Regions from separate parts of the Homo sapiens genome. Here region 2 is linked to region 1. The links are contacts of gene promoters, found by promoter capture Hi-C in blood cells and fetal thymus (Javierre and others, 2016). All regions are on one chromosome and are shown on one strand. The core of a region is centred on a gene start or on the middle of the fragment in contact, and the rest is flanking DNA. Distances in the headings are between cores, read along the strand shown. Region 1 holds the start of ELK1 (ETS transcription factor ELK1). Region 2 holds the start of LINC01545 (long intergenic non-protein coding RNA 1545).

Region 1 (2,700 bases), core at 11-2,510:
GACATTAAAGAGCCTGAATGCCTTTGAGTCACATGGCCCTTCTTTTTCCCCATAAACCCTGCTAGTTGCCACGGGGGCCTGTTCCTAGGGCACAAAGTTACTGAGAGACCCAGAGATCCAGTCTCTCTGTGGAACCTCCAAAATGCCCCAGCAGTCCTGCCTCCAGCCTGTTGCCTGGCAGTATTTGCCAGTTGACCTTATGCACTGCCCTCTCTTCTGTCATCTTGGCAACCTGGGCCCCCCACCTCACCCTTTCTTCCATTCCTTTTCCTAGACGCCACCCTTTGAATTGCCATAGAGAATGGGCCAATTCATGGTGGAGGTTTGTTCATTCCCACAACAATCAAAGGGCCCTAAGGTTTACGCTTTCACACACCCAATCATTCCCCAGGTACCCCAAATTACACCCAAACCCTAACTCAGCCCTACCTTGTCTTAGCCCCTGCTTGTAAGTGTTCCAGCTTCCAATGGGCACAGACCTGGATCCCGCTCTCCCTAGTCGGGCCCCTATTCTAGGTTGAGTCCAGCCACCGCCAATCAATGCAGAGCCAGGTTCCTCCCCTTTTTAACTCTGGCCGCAGTTCAACCCTGCCCTCTGAAAGCATTTCGTTTCTGCCACTCAATGCTCTTTCGTGTGCCTGACAGCCATCCTGCCCTCCTACCTCCGCTGTGTTCTAAATTCGTCTTTACCCAGCTCTATGGTCTTGTCTAACCGTAGAGCTGCCCTGCCCGCCTACGCGGAGCCCAGTCCGACCCACTCCCGCCGGCTGCTACGCCCATTTCTATACAAGCCCTGCTTCCGCTGAGCAGCATGGCGTGCGACACCGCCCCCTTGGTGTTTTGGCAGGGGTCTAGAAGTCCCTCGTCCGCCAATCAGAGAAAAACAGGGCCACCCACCCCCGTCCTTGGGGGCTGTCTTCCATCAATCCCATGTAAGCCAATCAGTGTGAGGCAGACCCCCGCCCCCCCGACACAGGCCCCGAGCCTTTTCAGTTGCTCACAGTCCGTCAGTCCTTGAGCCAATCGGCGTGGAGCACCGTGAAGGCCGAACGCGCCTCCTCGGGACTCCAGGGGCCGTGAGCGTTCCATCATTTCCCCTTACGCCAATCACGGCACAGCTCTGTAGGGAAGGGCCCGTCCCCCAACCCCTCGAGGCCTTGCGGCCGATTAATAGCGCTTTGGCCAATCAGCGAGCGGCGGGACATTGGGCTCCTCCTCCTCGGGCCCACGTGAGCTGTAGGGAAACGCAGGGGCGGCTTCTAGGTGCTGCCGCCGCCACCGCCACCACCACCTCCACCGCCGCCTCGGAACCCAGGCCTGGGGGGCGGTGGGGCCGCGTATGGAGCCCCCGCCCCCCGGAGCTGCCAACATTGCCAACGCCACCGCCACGCTACACACAGGTGAGCTCTGGGCCTGGAGGGTGGAGGGCCCAGTCCGTGACCCCACGTATCCTTCCCGCCCCCGCGCAGAGGATGTGGCTTGGCCGGTGGCCTGCTGGTGTTCGACTCCCCGCCGCCACCACCACGGCTGGTGGACCTGCGTGTGGCATTGCTCAAGCCCTTCGTCCCTTATAGTGGATCTGACCGTGGCCTAACCTCCCCCTCCCGTTGTATAATGGATCGGTCTGCGTGCTTATGTTTTTCCCCACGCCAACTTAGGGTGGACTCGTCCATAGGCTTTCCCCCTACCCCTACCCCCACCCGCCCCCCACCCACCCCCACTTATAGGGAGCTAGCCTGTGACAGTGTTCAGCCCCCTTAATAGTAGGTGTATCTGAGTGTTTGGATTTCTCCTAGCCTCAACTTTCAGGAGACCCGTCCGTGGCCTTATTTATTCCACCCTTCCTGTACATCGTAGCGAATCAATCCGTGGCGCCGCACTCCTCCGCATCCCTCTTTAACAGTGAGTCTACCTGAGTTTGTATTCCTGCCTCCTCCAGTCCCCCAATGCATCAGTCCATGGCTTTTTTCAAAACCACCCCCCCCCCCCACCACCACCACCACCATTTTATAGTGGATCAGTCTTCATGTTTGGATTCACGTCCCTTTAGCTATCAGTCCATTGCCCTGTCTCCTCTTTTTCGTAGACTGTCGCTCTAGCGCTTGGGGTTCTCTCCTTTTTAATAGTGGGTTAGTTTAGTGCTTTACATCTCCCTATTTTCAGTAGCTCAGTCCATAGCCTTTTCCCTCTCTGCTTTGAATCAGTCTGTGTGATGGCTTTTCTCTCCTCTCACTGTGGTGCAGGAGTCTGTAAGGTTTTCTGCTCCCCTTCCCCTCAGACGATGAGCCTCATCACCCCTCCCTTTGCAGTGGATCTGTTCATTGGCCTTCCTCCCCCACACCCCTGTATGCTTGCACAGTCCCCCGCATACCCTCCCGTGAGTCCAGTGCTTTGTAATTGGGGGAAGATCGGCCGTGTACTTTCAATTTCCTTCTCTTTTTTTTTCCCTTCCCAGAAGAGAACGTGCTGATCCTCTTTTCCTTGTGATGGAGCACTGTACGGCCTTCCCTGTCCTCCACCTCTTAATAGTGGGTCAGCCTGGTCACACTCGTAACCACAAAGACGTTCTGCCTCACTACAATAAGTGAATACATTAGCGCCAGTGATGATAGTAATGCCAATAGGAGCTAGCGTTTATTGAGCACCTGCCGTATATCAGGCAGAGTGTTTCATATGAATGAGTTCCTTTAATCCTCACCA
Region 2 (2,700 bases), core at 108-2,607, 750 kb after region 1:
CATTTGTGACATGAGAAAATGATTTCTACAAATGAAATACACATCTGTTCTTTGAAATCCTTCTCAGGTGTTAACTTCAATTGAATTGAATAACTAACTTTTTAAATCAATGAACGGAAAACAGTTTAGTGGAATTAGGTAATAGCATACACCCAATGAGTGAGTTATAATCAGTATAGCTTCCTTTTACCAGATGGCTAATGACCTTCATAGACCAAATACATGTTACAACTGATGCCATGGATCCGTAATATTGACACTCTCTCCATAGAAGCCTATCTTAGCTTGTGATTTATTTTCACAAAGAACAAAATGTTCACTGATGGAAGTTAAAATCAAAATGAAACACCAAACATCACTGTAGTGGTCAGTTTTGTTTTTTGTTTTGTTTTGTTTTGAGACGGAGTCTTACTCTGTTGCCTAGGCTGGAGTATGGTGGTGTGATCTCGGCTCACTGCAACCTCCACTTGCTGGATTCAAGTGATTCTCCTGCCTCAGCCTCTCAAGTAGCTGGGATTACAGGCACTCACCACCACGTCTGGCTAATTTTTGTATTATTAGTAGAGACGAGGTTTCACCAGCCTTGAGGCCAGGCTGGTCTCGAACTCCTGGTCTCAAGTGACCCGCCCGCTTCAGCCTCCCAAAGTGCTGGGGTTATAGGCATGAGCCACTGTGCACCTGGCCTGTAATGGTCAGTTTTATGTGTTAACATAGCTAGGCTATAGTCCCTAGTTTATAACTGGCTAACATAAGCCAGTTATTCCATTAAAATCTAATCTAGGTGGTGCTGAGAGGTATTTTGTAGATGTGAATCAAGTCTATAATCAGTTGACTTTATGTAAACAAGATTATCCTAGATAATCTGGTGGGCCTGAATCAATCAGTTAAAGGCCTTAATAGCAGAATGGAGGCTTTCCTGAAGAAGAAATTCTGCCCATAGACAGCAGCATTGGCTTGTGCTCGAGAACTCCTGCCTGTCCTTTCTGATGGCCTGCTCTAAGGATTTCAGATTTCAGGCTTGCCTAGCTAGCCACCACAATCACATAAGCCAGTTCATCTATATCTATACCTATATCTATATCTATATCTACATGTGTCTCCTAATGGTTCTGTTTCTCTGTTAGAATCCTGACTGATACAATCACTATCTTTATTTTATATATAAATCCATAACTTATATGCACTTAAGAAAAAAAAACTAATTTTCCCTGGATTTCATATTCTTTCTTTGGATTGGATTTTTCTCCATCAGAAATTTCAAAAGGGATTAAGAAAGTGTCTGACTCCAGAGAATGCTCAGCTTCAGAGACTATCCATAATTTTCTTTCTTTCTTTTCTTTCTTTTTTTTAGATGAAGTCTTGCTCTGTCGCCCAGACTAGAGTGCGGTGGTGCGATCTCAGCTCACTGCAACCTCTGCCTCCTGGATTCAAGCAATTCTCCTGCCTCAGCCTCCCAGGTGCACGCCACCATGCCTGGCTAATTTTTGTAGAGACAGGGTTTTGCCATGTTGGCCAGGCTGGTCTTGAACTCCTGACCTCAAGTGATCTGCCCGCCTTGGCCTCCCAAAGTACTGGGATTACAAGCATGAGCCACCATGCCCGACCCATAATTTTCCATATTAGAAGTAAACTGCCCCATGTGTGGCTTAGGAGAGAGTTGTTCCTCTTGGGAACCATCATCTAAGTGAATTCTCAGAAGCCTCTGTATTTAGCTTCCTGAAGATAGACGCACCAGGGCCATAGGAGACAAAAGCCCATGAAAACTGCTCCAGGCCTTCCTCTATGCTCTATCCAAGTCCATTCATAAATCCTATGTGTCTGTTGAGGTGCAAGAACCAGTTTTCAAAAAATTTGTGTACATTTAAGGGGTAAAAGTGCAGTTTTGTTACGTGGATATAATGCATAGTTGTAACGTCCAGGCTTTTAGCATAACCATCACCTGAATAATATACATTGTACCCATTAAGTAATTTCTTATTCCTCACCACCCTCCCATCCTTCTGAGTTGCCAATGTCTATTATTCTATAGTAGAACCAGTTTGTTTGTTTGTTTTTTAATCATAACATCAATAATTTTCCTTAATTCCTTCAGAAATTTCTTGGGAATACTTTACTTGTCTGGGAGACATTACCCAAATGATTTCATTCCACTGTTTCATTTTTGTTTTTGAGACAGGGTCGCCTAGGCTGGAGTGCAGTGGTGTGATCATAGCTTACTGTAACCTTGAACTCCTGGGCTCAAGTGATCTTCCTGCCTCAGCCTCCCAAGTAGCTAGGACTATAGGTACATGCCATTATGCCCAGCTAATTAAATTTTTTTTTTTTTTTTTTTTTTTTTGTAGAGACAGGATCTTGCCGTCTTGTCCAAGCTGGTCTCAAACTCCTGGTCTCAGCTAATCCTCTCACCTCGACCTCCCAAATCATCCCACTTTTTATCCCCCTGAAGAAATTTTGGGGTTACTTTTAGAAATGTTCTTAAATCTTTTCTCTCCCTTTTTTTAACTGCTATTTTTTTATTCATCTATTTATTTAAAACTGATCTTCCAGAAATGATTTAATGTGGCCTGTGATGATACAATTAAATACAGCACAAAGATAAAAACTAAAATTGGCAGGAAAAAAGAGAAAGTAAAGAAGGAAAATAAAAAAGAGTAGGAGAGAAAAGGAGAAAGTGAAAAAGAAAAAAGGAAACAGATTAAA

The links. Contacts are between HindIII fragments. The CHiCAGO score rates a contact against its expected background, and 5 or more counts as called.
Region 2: the fragment with the promoter of LINC01545 here is called in contact with the fragment with the promoter of ELK1 in region 1 in 1 of 17 cell types (monocytes); the score reaches 6.7 in monocytes.

The regions. Positions count from the first base shown.
Region 1 is chrX:47,649,123-47,651,822 of GRCh38, reverse strand. It overlaps ELK1 (ETS transcription factor ELK1), which reads left to right and starts at 1,260. Exons shown (of 7, transcript NM_001114123.3): 1 at 1,260-1,400; 2 at 1,797-1,902. UXT (ubiquitously expressed prefoldin like chaperone) reads left to right here. Exons shown (of 7, transcript NM_004182.4): 7 at 1-27. RefSeq lists a silencer at 1,076-1,485 and a cis regulatory region at 817-1,797. The HindIII fragment of the contact is 5,079 bases long and covers 1-2,700 here.
Region 2 is chrX:46,898,361-46,901,060 of GRCh38, reverse strand. It overlaps LINC01545 (long intergenic non-protein coding RNA 1545), which reads left to right and starts at 1,357. Exons shown (of 4, transcript NR_046101.1): 1 at 1,357-1,457. The HindIII fragment of the contact is 5,808 bases long and covers 1-2,700 here.